Regions from separate parts of the Homo sapiens genome. Here all the other regions are linked to region 5. The links are contacts of gene promoters, found by promoter capture Hi-C in human tissues and cell types (Jung and others, 2019). All regions are on one chromosome and are shown on one strand. The core of a region is centred on a gene start or on the middle of the fragment in contact, and the rest is flanking DNA. Distances in the headings are between cores, read along the strand shown.

What was found. Contacts are between HindIII fragments. The study calls those that stand out against the background at their distance.
Region 1: a fragment that was not itself captured here is called in contact with the fragment with the promoter of RPS3A in region 5 in 1 of the 25 tissues and cell types used here (dorsolateral prefrontal cortex).
Region 2: a fragment that was not itself captured here is called in contact with the fragment with the promoter of RPS3A in region 5 in 1 of the 25 tissues and cell types used here (mesenchymal stem cells).
Region 3: a fragment that was not itself captured here is called in contact with the fragment with the promoter of RPS3A in region 5 in 1 of the 25 tissues and cell types used here (spleen).
Region 4: a contact is called between a fragment that was not itself captured here and the fragment with the promoter of RPS3A in region 5, in 1 of the 25 tissues and cell types used here (dorsolateral prefrontal cortex).
Region 6: a fragment that was not itself captured here is called in contact with the fragment with the promoter of RPS3A in region 5 in 1 of the 25 tissues and cell types used here (dorsolateral prefrontal cortex).
Region 7: a contact is called between a fragment that was not itself captured here and the fragment with the promoter of RPS3A in region 5, in 1 of the 25 tissues and cell types used here (lymphoblastoid cells).

What each region holds. Positions count from the first base shown.
Region 1 is chr4:152,220,847-152,223,589 of GRCh38, forward strand. All of the region lies in intron 2 of LOC105377490 (a long non-coding RNA gene), which reads right to left. Among named protein-coding and RNA genes, the nearest start is that of FBXW7-AS1, 120 kb to the right of the region's middle. The HindIII fragment of the contact is 3,696 bases long and covers 1-2,743 here.
Region 2 is chr4:152,280,902-152,283,825 of GRCh38, forward strand. LOC105377492 (a long non-coding RNA gene) reads right to left here. Exons shown (of 4, transcript XR_939354.3): 4 at 2,666-2,924. Among named protein-coding and RNA genes, the nearest start is that of FBXW7-AS1, 55 kb to the right of the region's middle. The HindIII fragment of the contact is 3,498 bases long and covers 1-2,924 here.
Region 3 is chr4:152,436,891-152,439,590 of GRCh38, forward strand. The region is part of intron 2 of FBXW7 (F-box and WD repeat domain containing 7); the gene reads right to left. Among named protein-coding and RNA genes, the nearest start is that of MIR3140, 51 kb to the right of the region's middle. The HindIII fragment of the contact is 3,770 bases long and covers 1-2,700 here.
Region 4 is chr4:152,099,552-152,102,468 of GRCh38, forward strand. It overlaps LINC02273 (long intergenic non-protein coding RNA 2273), which reads left to right and starts at 1,202. Exons shown (of 3, transcript NR_121628.1): 1 at 1,202-1,266; 2 at 1,933-2,029. RefSeq lists enhancers at 859-1,359, 966-1,260, 1,360-1,860, 2,155-2,917. The HindIII fragment of the contact is 4,185 bases long and covers 1-2,917 here.
Region 5 is chr4:151,098,334-151,101,033 of GRCh38, forward strand. It overlaps RPS3A (ribosomal protein S3A), which reads left to right and starts at 1,295. Exons shown (of 6, transcript NM_001006.5): 1 at 1,295-1,381; 2 at 2,152-2,255; 3 at 2,642-2,700. The coding sequence starts at 1,320. RefSeq lists enhancers at 205-274, 552-1,751, 1,050-1,634, 1,055-1,614, 1,635-2,218. The HindIII fragment of the contact is 5,511 bases long and covers 1-2,700 here.
Region 6 is chr4:150,096,176-150,098,875 of GRCh38, forward strand. All of the region lies in intron 1 of DCLK2 (doublecortin like kinase 2), which reads left to right. Among named protein-coding and RNA genes, the nearest start is that of DCLK2, 19 kb to the left of the region's middle. The HindIII fragment of the contact is 4,883 bases long and covers 1-2,700 here.
Region 7 is chr4:149,971,676-149,974,460 of GRCh38, forward strand. No RefSeq gene overlaps it. Among named protein-coding and RNA genes, the nearest start is that of DCLK2, 110 kb to the right of the region's middle. The HindIII fragment of the contact is 6,557 bases long and covers 1-2,785 here.

The DNA of each region.
Region 1 (2,743 bases), core at 84-2,583, 1.1 Mb after region 5:
TTCAAGAATTTTCCAGAATTGAGAAAGACATGGGTTCTCGGCATGAAAATGCACACTTTATATGTCAAGCAAAATCATTAAAAATAAATTCACACCTAGTCACATTGTTGTGAAGCTGCAAAGCTTAAAAGCTAACAGACAAAAAAGGCAGGTCACTTACAGAGTAATGACAATTGAAATGGCAGCAGGCTTCTCATCAACATCAAGAAATGCATGATGGCAGGAAAGCAATATTTTCAGTGTTGAAAGAAACAAACTGTCAATCTACAATTCTGTACTCATCTACTTCATCATTTGAGTGAAAGCATAATAGAGACATTTTAAGAGATGCAAAAACTCAGAGAGCTACCTTTATGTTCCCTCAATAAAAGATTTAATTCTGGCTGGGCACGGTGGCTCATGCCTGTAATCCCAGCACTTTGGGAGGCCGAGGCGGGTGGATCACAAGGTCAAGAGATCGAGACCATCCTGGTCAACATGGTGAAACGCTGTTACTACTAAAAATATAAAAATTAGCTGGGTGTGGCGGTACACGCCTGTAGTCCCAGCTACACGGGAGGCTGAGGCAGAAGAATCACTTGAAACCGGGAGGTGGAGGTTGCAGTGAGCCAAGATCATGCCACTGCACTCCAGTCTGGCGACAGAGCGAGACTCTGTCTCAAAAAAATAAAATTAAATTAAAACAAATAAAAGATTTAATTCTACAAGAAGAAATAGGAATTTAAAAAAGAAAACTGTATCCATGCAACAGCAGGCAAACCTAAAGTACAAAGTAACATACTGCAGAATGATGCATATAGTATAATACTGTTAAAGTAATATTTAAACCCCTACCAAAAGACTATGTATTGTTTATTAAAATATCCACATATAGTAAAGTGGGAAACATGGACGGAAATGATACCTACCAGCTTCAGGACAATGGCAGCCACGGGAGAGGGAGCAGAGAATGAAATTGAGAGGAACACACAAAAGGCCCCAACTATATCTATAACACCTATAATTATTACTATTTGAACTCTTTTCTCTACTTAGGAACTGAATAGAGGCCAGTGATTTTTTTTGAAAGAGAATTGTTTGGAGGAAATGGTATCTCCTCACTCTCTGAAATCTTACGACCTGAAACTGAAGACCTACGCAGATTCTGATAAAATGGTGTGCATTGCTCTCTAAGCTTCCTGTCTGAACCGTCACTATCCAAGCTCACTAACTGCATAGAATCAAAGTGCACAGGATACCAAGTTTCTGTTGCTTTAAAAATATAAGGTCTTAAGCAAAATGGTAAAATGCTAACAATTTGTTAAATCTGAATGGTAGGTACTTTTGTGTTTAAATATTTCAAATATTAACAGAACAGTTTTTTAGTAATAATTTGTGGAAAGCAATGCCATGGCTTCCTTTCAGAGTCACAACACAAACAAACTGGTGTCCGTGTAGCTGACAGCACTTTGTGTTGGCCCCGCTGGCGGAGCAGCAAGGTATCGCCACTTCCTGAGCTGCTTCATCTGCGTTTGGATCCCCAGTGCCACCAGACAGAGCTGGGCTGTGCCCCCCACGTCATTCACAAATTTACAGAGTTAGGAGGAGACATTCAAAGATACATGACTATATCTGATGAAGTAAGTTCTCGGACAAGGCCAATTTTTATTTAAAAGAAAATACAGTCCCAAGAGGAAATTTACATAAGGAAGGTGACCCATACTTGGAAGCTGAAGAGGTATGCTGGACCAGGGGCAAAGAGAGCTAATACCAAGGTGAATGTGTAGAGAACCGCAGGAACAGTGATGTGAACGTGAACACGAATCAGGGGCCACCAGGACGTCTCCTGACTAGCAACTGGACCGCAGAGCCCACAGCCCACTGTGCCAGGGTGAAGGCCGGACATCCAGCCTCCAGAGACTTGAACTGGTTCTCTGGATGGTAGCAAAAAAGGGGACTGATTAATGGACAAGTCTAACTCATTCCATGATTCTCAGGAATCTTTTGGGAGAAAAACCCAAGAGAAGTCTAAACTTCCTGCTGATTTGACAGGTGGGGCCTGGACTTTTGTGATTTGGGTATTTAAGAGGAATTGTTATCTTATATTGGAGATACAGATTGCTGACGGCAAGGCTTTGGGCTACTGACTTTATCCTCATCATTTGTACACTAGGCAAAGAAGAAGCAGAGGTAGAAAGATTTCAAAACAGCAGCCTATCCCCAAGCAATTTTGCAGTCAGTGAGGCCTTTCCTGACCACTCTGTTTAATATTGTATTCCTCCCACCACGTACTCTGGACCTGTCTCCCAGCTTTATTTGCCTTAGTAGAAGGATTACCTTAATGTTTAAAGAATTATTTAGTATTTTTTCTGTCTCTCCAACTAGGATGTAAGCTCCATGGAGTCAGAAATTATCTGTTTTGTTCACTGCTGGTCTGTAAGTTTCAGAGCAGTGCCTGGCACAAAATAGAAGCTTAGTAAACATTTATTGAATGAATGACCCAACCTGTGTTTGGCTTTGGAGTGTGCTCATACATAACACATACGTCACAAACACTCTCAGTGAGATAAAATTTATGGAAGACCATTGATTTAGACTGAGCTCCTGCACTAAACCCTGACAAACCAATCTAAAGTGAAGTCACTCATGCTAAGGCCCATATCACCAAACTGAAACCTAAGCTGTTTACCTTTAAGATCTGGCCTTCTGAGAAATCAGGAGAGACAGTAGCCTAACACCCAAATAGGAACGTTTACCAAGAAAC
Region 2 (2,924 bases), core at 20-2,519, 1.2 Mb after region 5:
TATGACATGCAACAGCAAGATACACATCTAGGCCCTACAGGAACCATGCTGGGGCCGGAATGGCATTGAAAATGGTGACAGCCACCCTCTGCCTGCTGTCCCTTCTCTGCATCTTTCTCACCACACACTTCACACTCATCTTTCCACCAAGAGCTTCCCCTGCTTCCTCAGGTTTCTATCTGGGCTGGCCAGGTCTCTGACTGTGGTAACAACTTTTGGTCCCCCACAGTGAGCTCCAGAGTAGTAATTCCAGGTTCCTGGGAGAGAGTTTTAATAGGCTCAGTGCACTTGTTCAGGTATCAGTGTGATTTATTCCAACAAGGAGACCCCAAATCCACAGTTGGCTTCAACCAGATCCATGTTTGTTTCTCTCCTGCCAAAGTCTACACTGCCTGCAGCCCTCCTCTGCAAAGTCGCCAGGGCTCTAGGCTCCTTCCATCTTGTTGTTCTGTCATTCTTAGGATGAGGACTTTGCCCCCATGGTCCACAGGGCTCACCACCACATCCACTCCACAGGAGCAGAATAGAAGAAAGGCATGGCCCTGAAATCGCATGCATCATTTCCATTCCTGTGGCCAGAATTTACCCACAGGACTAAGCCTAGCTTCAAGGGAGCTCAGAATATATCATCTTTGCTAGGCAGTCAACTGGGGAGGGGGCACCAGCCATCTCTGACATAGGCAGCCTAGTTAGTTGTGGTGGTAAGAGGCAGTAAGTTCTGAAAGCGGGCAGCAAGATAGAGCCTTGGCAGCCTGGGGGCTCCCCTCCCGCAGGGCCCAGGTAGAGGGCAAGCCCACCCTGTGCTGAATCCATGCTGTGCCATGCACTATGGGACCTCTGACTTGTGAGAGCTCTGAGAGAAACACTTAGCGAAGGCACCTAGGAGACAGGACCTGCAGGGCCAGCAGCGTGGGGCACCTCGGGAGTCTCTCCTCAGAGACCCCTTTTATCTGTCGGGGTCAAGGGAAGTCAATTAAATTTAGGTGTGGGAGGGAGAGAAGAGAGAAAGCCAGAGGAGAAAGGGAACAGGAGATAATTGACAGTCACCAAGTTTATCTGAAAGGACTCTTACGTGAGTTCTAAGGAAACGTCTTACTCTCAGTTTCCTGAAGTAGCTAAAAACTTCCTGGGAGGGTGATGATCATGAGGCTGATTTGTGATAAAGACTATAAAGCAATTGGGGTGTGTCTAGCACACAGGAGACACTCAACAAATGGCAGAGTTTGGTTTAGATTCGAGGGCACTAAAGTGGAGCGGTTCAGTTCAGAGGTGACCCTCTGCATGCTGCATAGTCCAAACACATGGACAGTCTTTCTTTGCCTTTCCCAGTTCGTGGGGAAGTGGCTCTCCAGTTTTAGAGTCCACTCCCAGAGATTTCGCTTTTGTTAGGCCTAGGGCGGGGCCCAGGGATCTGCATTTTCATGCCGGGAAGTCTGGGGCAAATAGTTGAAAGGCTGAACTTGGAGAAATACTGCAGAAGGGGAAATGTCCTTCTCTGAGGTGGACTCTCTTCATTGACACAGTCATCTCCTACACAACGATCAGCATTGTGCCCCTTGGGGTACAACTTCTCTAATTCCCTTTCTTGTGATGTTCCTGGGGATGGAAGATGAGATGGGAGTTGTGGGAGGAAAGGCAAGGTGATGATGGGAGTTCATTTGGTCAGAAAAGCTTATCTAGAACATCCACAAGCCCAATAATGACCTCCCCCTCAAGCCTCCATTAGAAAACCAGCGGGCTATTTGGGCAGCATCTGAGGTCACCTCTAGGACCAGAATGTGCAGACCCATTGGAGACACTGAAACACTATTAATAGTGGGGTGGGCGGCGCCAAGCTCAGGGAGTGTGAAATGCTTCTTCCAGGAGCACACAAGTCCTCTGAGAGCCCAGGTCACCTCAGACTTGAATGTAGTCATCCTGGCTGACCCCCCAGACATAGCTGCTGGTGCTCAGGGCAAAGAGCGGGCCTGGCCACAGAAGGCCCAAGTGCAGCCCTCCGCAAAGCCCTTCCCTCTGGCGGGTCAGACACAGAGGCCTCCGTTCTCTCTCAATCACATTTATCGACTTTTTTTCTTATTACTAGAATAGATATACAATCATCATAAGAAGTGTTTTTTGAAGATACGGAAAGGCACAAAAGAAAAACAAAAGCCACCTGTAATCCTACCATCCAGAAATAACCATTATTAACATTTTAGAGTAACACACTACTAGTTTTTCCTATGCATATATTTGCATAAAATTGCATACATCAAATTTGGATTTTACCAAATCCTCTCTTCTGTAATCTGCATGCTTCACTTAACAGAATATACAATATTTTCCCACATCATGAAATGTTCTTTGACAGCCTCATTTTTTTCCATCTCTTATTTTTTAATTTAATTTTAAGTTCCATGACACATGTGTAGGATATGCAAGTTTGTTACATAGGTAGACGTGTGCTATGGTGGTTTGCTGTACCTATTAACCCATCACTTAGGTATTAAGCCAGCATGCATTAGCTAATTTTCCGGATGCTCTCCCTCCCCCTGCACCTGCAGGCCCCAGTGTGTGTTTTTCCTCTCCCTGTGTCCATGTATTCTCATTGTTCAGCTCCCACTTGTAAGTGAGAAGATGCCGTGTTTGGTTTTCTGTTCCTGCATTAGTTTGCTGAAGATAATGGCTTCCAGGTCCATCCATGTGCCTGCAAAGGACATGATCTCATTCATTTTTATGACAGCCTCATTTTTAATAGCTCATCATATTCTAGCATATGGATGTATAACAATTTAATTTGGACATTTTGGTTATTTCTGTTCTTTACTTTTATTTTTGCTCCTATAAATTCTGTATATCAGTATTGGTTTTCTTAGGATTGATTCTGAGGTCAAAGTATTTTTTTAAGTAAATTCTTAGATCAAAGTATTTTTTTAAGTTTTAGG
Region 3 (2,700 bases), core at 85-2,584, 1.3 Mb after region 5:
CTCATTGCTCAATGACAACGAACCTGGTCACCCAAGAGCTCTGATGGAGATGTACATGGAGATTCATGTTGTTTTCATGCCTAATAATACAATACCCATTCTGCAGCCCATTAATCAAGGGTCATTTCTACTTTCCAGTCTTGTTTTAGAAATACATTAGCTGTTTTATATATATACATAGTGAATCCTCTGATGGATCTGGGCAAAGTAAATTGAAAACCTTTTGAGAAGGATAACTGCACTCCAGATACCATTAAGAATATCTGTGTTTCACAGAAGGAGGTCAAAATATCAACATCAACAGGAGTTTGGAAGAAGTTGATTCCAACCCTCGTGGATGACTTTGAGGGGTTCAAGACTTCAGTGGAGGGCTACTCAGGAGGCTGAGGCAGAAGAATCACTTGAACCCGGCAGGCGCAAGTTGCAGTGAGCTGACTGAGATCGTGCCACTGCACTCCAGCCTGGGAGACAGAGCCAGACTCCATCTCAAAAAAAAAAAAAATTCAGTGGCGGAAGTCACTGCAGGCGCGTAGAAATAGCAAGAGAACTAGAATTAGAACTGGAGTTTGACAATGTGACTAAACTGTTGCAATCTCATAATAAAACTTGAATGGATAAGGTGTTGTTTCTTCTGAATGAGCAAGGAAAGTAGTTTCCTGAGACAAAGTTAAACAATTTAGAATACTGCATACACTTAATTGATAAACCAGCGGCAGGATTTGAAAGGATTGCCTCCAGTTTTGAAAGAAGTTCTACTCTGCATAAAATGCTATCAAACAGCATCACACGCTACAGAGAAATCGTTCATGACAGGAAGAGTCAATCAATGCAGCAAACTTCATTGTTATTTTAAGAAACTGACACAGCCATTCCAACCCTCAGCAACATCACTCTATCAGTCAGCAGCCATCAACACTGAGGCAAGACTACAGCAGTAAAATGATCGTGACTCCCTGAAGGCTCAGGTGATTGTTAGCATTTTTTAGCAATCAAGTATTTTTTAGCCAGGCGCGATGGCTCACGCTTGTAATCTCAGCACTTTGGGAGGCAGAGGTGGGCAGATCACTTGAGGTCAGGAGTTCAAGACCAGCCTGGCCAACATGGTGAAACCCGGTCTCTACTAAAAATATAAAATTAGCCGGGTGTGGTGGCGGGTGCCTGTAATCCCAGCTACTTGGAAGGCAGAGGCAAGAGAATCGCTTGAACCTGAGAGGCGGAGGTTACAGCGAGCCAATACCATACCACTGCACTCCAGCCTGGGCAACAGAGCAAGACTGTCTCAATAAATAAATAAATAGTAAAGTATTTTTTAGTTAAGGTATGCACACTTTTTAGACAGAATGCTATTGCATACTTAATAGGCTACAATGCCATGTAAATATAACTTTATATGCACTGGGGAAACAATAAATTCTTGTGACTAACTTTATTATGATATTTGCTTAATTGTAGTGGTCTAGAACCAAATCCATGGTATCTTCAAAGTATTAATTCTAACAAAAAGTGGCCAGGCACGGTGGCTCATGCCTGTAATCTCAGCACTTTGGGAGGCCAAGCCAGGTGGATCACTTGAGGTCAGGAGTTCGAGACCAACTTGGCCAACATGGTGAAACACTGTCTCTACTAAAAACATAAAAATTAGCCAGGAGTGGCACACACCTGTAATCTCAGCTACTCAGGAGGCTGAGGAACGAGAATCACTTGAACCCCAGAGGCAAAAGTTGCAGTGAGCCGAGATTACATCACTGCACTCGAGCCTGGGTGACAGACTGAGACTCTGTCTCAAAAAAACAAAAACACTCTATTTTAAAACATAAAGCTATACAAGTAAAGTAAGGGACAAATGGTACTGGTAAACCTACTCCATCACCCAGTACTACCCTACCCACATGGGAGATGTGCGTGGACTTATTTAACAGCACAGAAAAAATATACAAACATGCACACCCACTGCTACTTCATGTCAATATAGTAGCAGCAATGATAAAACAATGGGACAACTACAGACAACAGTCTACTTTCCTATTAAGACATGTTCTTGTAGTGTACATTAGTTCATTCATTCATCATTTGGGCGATGAGGTCAGTATAATGTGAATGTCACTTTAGTCCAAAATTTTCCCCAGCATAGTAAAGTTTTAAAGCCAGCAGGGACAAGCTTTCTCACAAAGACAGAGCTTAAGCAATACATGATGACCTTAAGAAAAAAACTAGAAATCCAGAAGAGGGTAACCAGAGGCTAGTTAATGGCTTTAAACTGCTAGGCATTCCACAATGTTAAAACCATCTGGTCAAGCTGTGAGTACAGATAGAAAATCCATGACAATATTTTTCCCACGTTAATTTTTTTTTTTAAGGGGTGAGAGGCAACTGATAAAAACTACACCCTGGATCAGATTTACTAGTTTTCACAATTTCATCATAAGTAGAAATGAATGTTCTCGAGGACCTACATTTCAAAGGAGAAAGCATAAATCCTAGAACTTAGAACTAACTGGGGTAAATATTTAGCTATATAATATTTTTATTAGAATGGGTACTGGTTTCGTTACTACAGAGATTACAAGTTTACACAGGAACAAGCCACTCAGAAACCGATTTTCAGGGCCCGATTTTGCAGAGCTTCAGGTTTTCTTCAGAGACAACTATACTGTTATATAACAAAAGTAACTGCCTGTACTATGGTTATTTAAAGAAGTC
Region 4 (2,917 bases), core at 318-2,817, 1.0 Mb after region 5:
TCTCTGGCACCTTCTTGACCCAGAAACATTCTTTATGTCCTGGTAATGATGGCACATTGAACATTCCAGGGAATTCCAATCCTGGAAATCAAGAAGGAGACTTACTCTAAAGGCATAGGCGAAAGTGAGTTGTCACCAGGGTGCACAGCTTCCTGGACATTCTACTGGAATAAAACTTGGCTCCCCAGGGGCCAGCAGGAGTCACCCAAGGGCAGGTCCCAAGCAGTCTCCCTTCCAGGCTCTGTAGTAAAAATGAACCACTCTTGATTCGAGGTTCAGAGTCTGAGGTCAATTTCCCCACCCCAGATCTCACTGGGGGCATTAGATCCCCTAGGGCCTTCTTCAGACCCCTAAGATTTATCACTGGCTTCAGAGAGATGAACCAATTCAATTAGCTTTTCCATTCTCCCAGCTTATTTTCCAGGAGCGGAGTGTGGCGCTCATTGTCGCAGTCGAACAAGCTAAAGAGCCTGCAAGGCCCAATACTGACTCCAGGAGATACTGGGAAGGGCTTGCTAGTGATGGAACCTGGCTATGAATCTTGCTTTCCTGATTCTAAAATTGACTCTGCCTGAAGGTGCTGCTGAGGTGCCCTGGGTACTTCTCCAGCGGTGGGTAGAGGAGTGACAGAGGGAGGAGTGCCCCTGACACACAAACAATTTCAGGAAGACAGTTTCCCTATTATCTATTATATAGATTGGGGGGTGCATTCATTTATTCATTCAATATTTATTGAACTTCCACGTATTCCAGGCACTGTCTAGGCGTCTGGGCCAGGATAGAGAGGGGAGTAAGATAGACCTTTCCTTGCTGTTACAGAACTTACGTCTTTGTTGGAGAGACAGGAAATAAACAAGTAAGTTAAAAACCCACAATTTGGGGTAGAGGCCCACAGGTCAGGTTCTGCAGGAAGTAGACTCTGACAAAGAGATTTGCAGGAGGTTTTTGGGGCGTGATCTCAGGAGCAACAAGTGTGAAGGGTGAGGGACGCAGGTCGGACAGATGGAAAAGTTGCTTTCTGTCTTCCTCCTGAGGAGCTTTGCAGCTTGGGACAACAAGCAGTGTTGTCCTAATTAAGATTGGAGGACTGGGCATTTGCACTCCCATGTGACCAGCCTTTGGATGCAAGCTGCCTCCAGGAAGTGGGTGTACATGTGGGTGGAGCAGCTTCCTCTGACAGAGGAAATGACACACCTCTGACACTTTGCAATGCTTGGAAAGTGTCTCAGGTGTGAGTTGGTGGAGCCTGCACTCCCAGCAGCTAAGGTGACAAGCGTTTTTCGGTTCTGCCAGGGGATCTGAGTGGCACACAACAACATCCACTATGAAATGTGGTGTGTGCTGGGTGGGGGCTGACTGAGGAGCTCGAGAGTAGGAGTGAGGCAGGCTATTTTAAAGAGGTGGCAAGGGAAGGCCTCTCTGAGCAAAGGCAGAGACTTTAGGCAAAGACTTGATTGGTGTGAGGAAGTGAGCCATTCAAAGTCAAGGGCACCAGAGGTTCTAAGCAGAGGAAACAGCAAATGCAAAGCAGAGAACAAGCTTGGCACATTTGAGAACCAACAATAAGTCCAGTGTGTCTGGAGCCACAGGAGTCAAGGAGACAGCAGCTGGCAGTTCAGCCAATGGGCTACCAGGAAACCAGATGGCAGAGAGCCTGGTAGACCACGGTAAGGAGTTTGCAGTTTAAGAGTGATGGGAGATGTTGGAGCACTTTGAACAGGGTGAAAGTCACCATCTGATCTACATTTTAAACGTATTATTTCACTAAATAGAGAAATAATACGTTTAAAATGGTAGTAATTGGTCATTGTTATATTGTCATTAACAAGTAGAGATTCTAAAGTCTAGACTTCTAAAAACAATTTTAAGTGAAGCAAATGTTGCTCCATCTGACAATTATGTAAGCCAGCCATACCTGTTCTTTCCCTGTAGGTAGAAGCATATGGGAAACTGCATTCCGATCCAGGGAAGTATAGGAAGCAGTAATAAAAGTGGGAAGACCTATTATAAGTTCGTTGCAGTCATCCAGGTAAGAGGGGATACTGGCTGAAAACAAGGTTTCAGCTATGTGGGCCCTAGCTTGGAAGGGATGGGATTCTACATATGTTTTGTAGCTGGAAGCAGGAGTTTGAGGCTAAGAGATGACCTGAGAATAGAATGATTTTAGGTGTTAGGCCTGAGAGATGAGGGCACATTAGGGAGGAGCATGTGCAGCGGGGGCAGGGCATCCAGAATGCTCTTTGGACATCTTATATTTTAAGTGCCTGTCAGACACCCAAGTAGAGACGCCTGATGTGAAGACATGAATATCTGCAGCTTGAGGTCCTTCGTAAGATCATTTGAAAATAAGAGTTGTGCTACTAAAATAAAATGTGCAAAAAAAAAAAAAAGAGAGAGAGAGAGAAGAAAAAAAGAAAATCGCTGCATCATGCTGTCTTGTGTATAGTTGAATTTTCACATGCTGTGGAAATTCAGCCAGAGATCCTGTGGAAAAATACTGAAAGGACCCTTGGATCACTGATTCTAAGTTTGAAAAAGGGCTGGGCTGGCTGCTTCTAAGCTTGGCTGTCTTGCTTCTATGGGGCAAGTTCGGGAATCTTTTTTTTTTTTTTTTTTTTGTAATTGAGGCAATTGACTTTGTCAGCAAGCTAAGAGTGGATTTCTCTCATAGGGGTGAATTCACATTGATCAATGTAACCAGGCTCCTAAGAGACTGATAAAGCAGAAACTGTTTACCTTGAAAAATATAGTCATCTCACAATTATGTAAGCCAGTCATGCCTGTTCGTTCCCTGTAGATCAAAGCATATGGGAAACTGCATTCCAATCCAGGGATTTCCCAGTGAGTTAGAATTAGACAAAGGGGTTGAACCGAATAGCTCAAACATGTTAAGTTATCAACATACTAAAATCCTGAG
Region 5 (2,700 bases), core at 45-2,544:
CAGAGGGGAAGTTAGAGAAGGGAACTCAACACACCACTGGCTGAGTACCAAGCCTGTATGGGCCAGATGCTTTCCGAGGGCTGCACACTTGAGCTAGCCAGCCACACCTTGCCAGGATGTGCTCTGTTAACCCCTACAGTTAAAAAAAATGGGGGAGGCGGGTTTGGATTAGTTGCAAAAATGGAAACATTTGGAGATCTCACTTTTTTTTTTTTGACGCAGTTTCACTCTTGTTGGCCAGGCAATGGCGCGATCTCGGCTCACTGCAACTTCCGCCTCCTGAGCTCAGATTCTCGTGCCTCAGCCTCCCGAGTAGCTGGGATTACAGGCACCCACCCGGCTAATTTTTTGTATGTTTAGTAGAGACGGGGTTTCACTATGTTGGCCAGGCTGGTCTCGAACTCCTGAGCTCAGGCGATCCGCCCGCCTCAGCCTCCCAAAGTGCTGGGATTACAGGCGTGAGCCACCGCGCCCGGCCAACGCCCTGCTAATTTTATCATTTTCTTGTAAAGACGGGGTCTGGCTGTGTGGCCCAGGCTAGTCTCCAATTCCTGGCTTCAGTTGATTCCCCTGCCTCAGCCTCTTAAAGTGCTGGGATTACAGGTGTGAGCCAACGAGTTCGGTCTCACTCTATTTTAAAAAAACCTTTTAATCAATATATAACAGACATATAGAAAAGGACACAAATAAGCGTAGAGCTTAGTGAATGTTCACAAAGCAACAACACCTGAGATGAACCAGCATCCACATCAACAAGCAGAACGTCGCTAGCATCTCTGGAGTGATGCTCATTTAGCCCTATGAAACCTCATGAAGCCGACCGTTTTATCACCCCCATATTACGCATGAGGAAACAAGCGTGGAGAGGTCGGTCTCAAGCAAAGCCCTGTTGAAACCGGCATTTGAATCAGATCCGCTGACTGACTCCAAAGCCAATGCTCTCAAAAAGCAGGTTTGGGGGTTAGACGGTGAGTTCAGCTTTGAACGATGTTGAGTGGGCGTCTCGTTTTACAGAAACTTACTTCCCGACGTCACAGCCACAGAAACCACAGGTAACCAGACGCCTGCACGTCAGGCCACCGACGCCTTGGTCTACACAGCGCAGCCTCCAGTGAGCCCGCGGCATGCCGCGCGGCCTCCCCACACACGATGGCGATGTCGCAACCACAGTAGAAAGAGTGGCGCTCTCTACTGTCCCGGAATTCTTGAGGCCGGAAGAATAACAGGGCAAAGGTCACGTAGACGGCGCGCCCCGCCCCCGTACGCCTAAGTTCTCGCGCGACTCCCACTTCCGCCCTTTTGGCTCTCTGACCAGCACCATGGCGGTTGGCAAGAACAAGCGCCTTACGAAAGGCGGCAAAAAGGGAGCCAAGAAGAAAGTGTAAGTCGCGACTGTCGTGGCGTCTTGCTTTTTGGGGGTCTGCTGGAATCGGCGGGCTGGTCCTAGATCGCGGCGTAGGCCGGATGGCGAGGATTCCAGTCGGATTGTGCGGGCCGTGGCGGGTTGGTGCACCCAGGAACGCGGCCTGGAGGGTCGGTGTTGAGTAGCGGCAGGTCGGCTGCCTTTCCCAGGCCTTCTGGTCCTTGCGCGCGTCGCGTTTGAGCCGGCTTGCCGGCGCGACTCGGCTGGAATGTTAGTTTTGTGGGCTCACGAGCTGCCTCAATTCTGCGAGTGTTTGATGGCACTGCGACAGCAGGAGTTGAGGAAAGCACCCTTCTATCCATTCAGGACCCGTCAATCTCGCCTTTGCTTGGTCCCGCTGGAATCTGCGAGCTCCTGCTAAGCTTTGGGGCCATGCAGTCTCTTAGTTACCAGTACATGCCATTACGTGCCAGCAAAGTTAATGAGATTGCATGTTACTCGTGCCTGTGTAGTGGAAGGACCGATGCATGTTATTCTAAGTGCCTGTGTAGTGGATGGACCGATGAGGGTGGGAAGTGGACATAACCTTTCAAAGTCTGATGCATGCAGTGAAACGTACAGTGGGAAGAGCTAGATTTATGTTTGTTCCCCTCACCTCACTGTGAGATATACTTTGGTATCAAATTGCCGGTTAGCTTTTTAAAATATTAATGGGAAATACCATTAACAGTGAAAAATACAGTAAGAATTGATCTGCAATGGAACTTAAGCATCTTCTTAAAATCCAGGGTTGATCCATTTTCTAAGAAAGATTGGTATGATGTGAAAGCACCTGCTATGTTCAATATAAGAAATATTGGAAAGACGCTCGTCACCAGGACCCAAGGAACCAGTAAGTAGCTTATTCTTGGTTTGTATTTTCCTTAAGTTGGCGCTTGTATATTGTAGCAGGCATCTTGGTCTGTTGTTGGTCCTGTGGTGGGAGACTTTAAGGAAATGTCAGCTCTTGGTTGCAGCCTTGGCACCTGTGGTGATCATTTTTAGTACAGCACTTGGAGAGAAGCAAGATGGTGCTTTTTGAATTAAGAAAATGTGCCATGGGTAGTTCTGAGCTTCAAATAAGTACTGTTGATAAGTCACTGGTGTCTGGATAGATTTGATAACAAAGGTTAAGGTCTTTATAATTTACCATTAACTTAATTTCTACCCTCAGTTTACAGGCTTGACTTTGCTTATATGGTTCCTAAATGTTAAGATACTTGTTTTTTTCTTTTGTAGAAATTGCATCTGATGGTCTCAAGGGTCGTGTGTTTGAAGTGAGTCTTGCTGATTTGCAG
Region 6 (2,700 bases), core at 1-2,500, 1.0 Mb before region 5:
TCAACCGTTCTGCCAATTTTGTTGAATGTGGGGGAAGGGCAGTGAAGAAGGAAGCTTGGTTTTTGCTTAGATGACTGAACAGTGGTTATTCCGTTCAATACTTTGGGGACTTTAGGAAGAGGAGAGTGTGAGATCAGGGTGGCAGTAATGGAGAGTGAAATTCGTTTTAGATATGTAGCATGTGAGATATTCATAGATATCTAGAGAGGGATATTCTGTTAGTGGGTTGAACTCGAGAAAGATCTAGGCCAGAAATGTCATCGATGTTTGATTCCTCAGAGTGTAGATGGTGGTTGAAGCCATGGATAAAGATGCAGCTGCCCAGAGAAAGTCTAAGGAGGATGAGGGATGCCTGGGTGGGTGTGGAAAGAGGATCCTGAAAAGCAGACTGAGAAGGAGCAACCTAAGAAATGTGAGGTAAAGGTAAGGGAGATCATAGATGCTAGGGAAAAAAGGATTTGCATGAAGAGGATTAGGACTGGTGTCCAGTGCCCTCAGAAGACACTGAAGACACTGAGTGAAATTAGACAGAAAATGTGCTTTGCATTTGGCAGTTAGGTAAGAAGTACTTGGGAACTGGGGCGAGCCACATTTCAGCTAGCAGAGCCCAGGGAGCACAAGTGATGCTCCAGTGGCTTAAAAGCAAAGAGTGGGCGATGAAGTGGAAAAACAGATGAGGACTGGCAGTGAATGGAAGCCAAAAGCACATTAGGTAGAGTAGAGTGAATGGGGTGGGGCTGGGCGGTTCATGTGTTTAAGGTGGGACACACTTGTGTATAATCCTATAAAGAGGGCTGGAGAGGAGAGAAAGAATGGCTCTGAAACCTCAGCATGGGAGGAGAGAAGGACCCACGTCCTGTTAGAGGGATTTAACTTTGAATAGGAGGAGAGCACTCTGTCACTGAAAGGAAAAGGACGTGCGAAAAATGGGCACAGATGGAAATAAATGTGTAAGAATGAAGGTTTGCAGAGAGTGAGAAATTGGAAATTTCTAGCCTTTTTTTTTTTTTTTTTGAGACAGAGTCCCGCCCACTCTGTCACCCAGGCTGGAGTGCTGTGGTACTGCAACCTCCGCCTTCTGGGTTCAAGCGATTCTAGTGTTTCAGCCTCCGGGTAGCTGGGATTACAGGCATGCACCACCACTTGTGGCTAATTTTTGTATTTTTTAGTAGAGACAGGGTTTTACCATGTTGGTGAGGCTGGCCTGGAACTCCTGGCCTGAAATGATCTGCCCACCTTGGCCTCCCAAAATGCTGGGATTACAGGCATGAGCTACCGTGCCTGGCTGGAATTACCTAGCTTTTAATGACCTCTTTCTTCTTGAATAAGAGGCAGTTCATTTGGTTGAGTAAGGATGAAAGTTAACGGCCTTCTAAACATATACCCAACCAAGTTGTATTACATAATTGTAAACACTGAGTCAACCTGCTATATATGCAGTAATGCAAAGTGTCTTTGAATGGACATCAAAGGTAAAAAGCCATAGCTGTGCCTCTGGAAAGAGTCTTATAGGATATTGAAGGAATGCTTTCTGTTCCATTACCATGCCTGAAAACAGTTAAGTTTTATAACCACCTTATGCTTCTGTTTTTCCTCTTTCTATACAGAAACCAAAACCCTCTTTGTATATAGTACTCATATGATCGGGATTTGCAAAATGATTTCCCCTAAATTTTTTACAGTTTTATGGCCAAAGAACTTGAAAGAGAGAGAAGGCAGGGAAAGGAGAATGAATATGGATATATGTATCTAAATTCCCTTTAGCCAAAGACCACTGGGCACACACATGTAGTTGAACAAGTTGGGTTTATTACTTGTTCCAATGAAGAAGAACACACCTTATAAGATACCATGTGGTGTCTTAGTAAGAGGGTGTTAGAACCTATCATAGCATTTGGGCTCTGGCTGATTAATATTAGGAAGGATCTAAGGAAACGGGGGCTCACTCTGTCTTGGGTGCTGTCAGAAGGCAGGACAATCCTATGATTGGATACCTCTATAAATCTTAGTTATAGGGAGGGCAGACTAGATTGAGGAAAAAACTACGGTGGTAAAGAAATGGCAGTCACTCACTTAGTGCAAGAGGGGGATGTTTGGTATTGTGGATTGCACAGTGACCTTGTTTTTGTGTCACTTTATCATAAAGTCTTAGAGTGACTTCGTATGATATAGTCTGTGAGATTATGTCTAACAGAAGAACAAAATGGCTTGACTCTGAGTGACAGACCAGCTTGTAATAACATTGAAGTCTAGCTATGAGTCAGCCCAGTTCTGGGACTGCTTTATCTACTTATGAAAAAAATACATATGCGTGGTCCTAGTTGAACTCTAATTTTTATTTTGTTAATTTTTTATTTCAATAGCTTTTGGGGTACGAGTGGTTTATGGTTACATGGGTGAATTGTCTAGTGGTGAAGTCTGAGATTTTAGTGCACCTGTCACTTTGTTTTGGTGAGGGCAGTTTTAACATACGTTGGCAAGAGTTTAACAAAGTCTCTCATACTGTGGGGTTTTTTCTTTTTCTTTTTTTTTTTTTTTTGGCAGAGTCTCATTCTTGTCACCCAGGCTGGAGTGCAGTGGCACGGTCTTGGCTAACTGCAATCTCTGCCTCCTGGGTTCAGGTGATTTTCCTGCCTCAGCCTACTGAGTAGCTGGGATTACAGGCGCCCGCCACCACACCCGGCTAATTTTTATATTTTT
Region 7 (2,785 bases), core at 281-2,780, 1.1 Mb before region 5:
GTGAGCATGATTGTACCACTGCACTCCAACCTGATCAACAGAGCAACTCCCTGTCTCAAAAAGAAAATAAAAAGAAAAATAAATAGACCCATATAAAAGTGGTCAACTGATCTTCAAAAAGTTGCAAAGACAATTCAATGGAGCAAAGATATTCCTTTCAAAAAATGGTGTTGGAACAACTAGACATCCACATTTTAAAAAGTGAATCTAGACACAGACCTTACACCTTTCACAAAAATTCACTCAAAATGGATTGTAGACCTAAATGCAAAATGCGAAACTATAAAACTCCTGGAATATAACATAGGAAAAAAATCTAGGTAATCTTAGATATGGCAATGAATTCTTAGATACAATAAAAAAAGGCACAGTCTATGAAAAAAAAATTGATAAGCTAGACTTCATTAAAATTTAAAACTTCTGCTCTGTGAAAAACACTGTCAAAAGAATGAGAAGACAAGACACAGACTGGGAGACAATATTTACAAAGGACATATCTGATATGTCCTGATCATATCTGATATGTCCTGATCATATCTGATAGGGACTGTCATCCAAAATACACAGAGAATCCTTAAAACTCAAAAATAAGAAAATAAACAACATGATTTAAAAAATAGACCAAGAACCTTCACAGACATCTCACCAAAGAAGACATACAGATGGCAAATATGAAAAAATACTCAACATTATATGTCATTAGAGAATTGCAAGTTAAAACAATGATATACTACTATACAGCTATTAGGATGGCCAAAATCTGAAACATTGAAAATGCCAAGTGTTGGAAAGGTTGTGGAACAACATGGATTCTCAGCCACTGCTAGTGGGAATGGAAAATGGTACAGCCACTTTGGAAGACAGGCTGACAGTCTCATACAAAACCAAACATATTCTTGTAATATGATCCAGCAACCATGCTCCTTGGTATTTACCCAAATGAATTGAAAACTTATGTCCAGACAAAAGCATTTGCACGGATGTTTATAGCAGCTTTATTCATTATTGCCAAAAACTTGGAAGCAATTAAGATGTCCTTCAGTGAGTGAATAAATAAGTAGACTATGGCACATCAGACAACAGAATATTGGAATATTATTCAATGCTAAAACGAAATAAGCATTGAATTATATTGCTATCAAGCAATACAAAACACAGAGCAAACTTAGTATGAATATTATTAAGTGAAAGAAGCCAATCTGGAAGGGCTACAGCTATGTGATTCCAACTATATGATGTTCTGGAAAAGGCAAAATTATGGAGACAGTAAAAAGATCAGTTGTTGTGAGGGGCTGAGAGAGCAGGAGGGTGGGTGAATAGGCAAAACACAGAGGATTTCCAGGGCAGTGAAGCTATTCTGAAGGACATTGTAATGTTGGATACATGTCATTGTACATTTGTCAAAATCTACAGAACGTATAACAATGCCAAGAGTAAATCCTAATGTGAATTATGGAATTTGGGTGATACTGATGTGACAATATAGGTACATCAATTGTAAAAAATGTATCACTCTGGTGTGGGATATTGATAGTGAGGGAGGCTGTACATGTGTAGGGGCAGGGAGTATATGAGAAATCTCTGTAATTTCCACTCAATTTTGCTGTGAATCTAAATCTGCTCTAAAAATAAATTCTATTACAAATAATCAAAAACTGCTGCTTGGTAAAAGCCACCGTAAACATGACAAAGTATGTAAAATATGTACAACAAACATCACAGTCAAAGGGCGAATTTTCTTATGCAAATATCAACTACTAGAAAAAAATGGGAAAAATAAACAGTGCAAAGAAAAGGAAACATAAATAGTTCTTAAATGTGAAACCTCATACACTATGATATTAAAAATTAAAATTACACTGGAGAGCTTCAAAATACATGAAGCAAAAACTGACAGACCTAAAAGAAGAAATAGGCAAATCCACAACTTATCATTGAAGACATCAACACGCACTTCACCCAGCAATTGGTAAAACAGTAGACAGAAGATTGGTAAAGATATAGACTTGAATGACATTTTCAACCAGCTTGACCTAATTGGTATTTGTAGACCACTATATCTAAAACCCACAGAATAGACACTCCTTTAAAGTGCACATAGAATACTCACAAAATAGACTACATTAGGCCATAAAACAAGTCTCAATAGATTTCAAAGGAAATTATGCCGAGTAAATTTTCTGAATACGAGGGAATCAAATTTGAAATCAAAAACAAAATGATATTTTTAAAAATCCCCAAATATTTGAAAATTAAAGAACATAGTTGTAAATCACTAATGTACCAAAGAAGAAATTACAAGGGAAATTAGAAAACATTTTTAACTGAATAAAACTGAAAACACAATATATCAAGATTTGTGATATGTAACTAAAGTAATACTTGAAGGGAAAGTTACAGCTTTAGATGCTTATACAGAATTAGAAAATAAAGAAAGTAGTAGGAAAGCCTAAAATTAAATCTCTCATTCCATCTTAAGACACTAGAAAAAGAGAAACAAATTAAGTTCGAAGTAAGCAGAATAATGAAAGTAACAGTAGAAATCATTGAAATAGAAGAGCCAAAAGCAACTTTAAAAAGTAATGAAACCAAAAAGATGACAGTTCTTTGAAACAAATCAATGAAAATTGATAAATTTCTAGCTAGACTTGTCAAGAAAAAGAGAAAACACAAGTATTCAGTATCAGAAATATTCTATAAATATTAAACAAATAATTAGGGAATACTGCAAGCAATTTATGCCAACAATTCAACAACTTAGATGAGACAGGCAAATCCCTAAAAG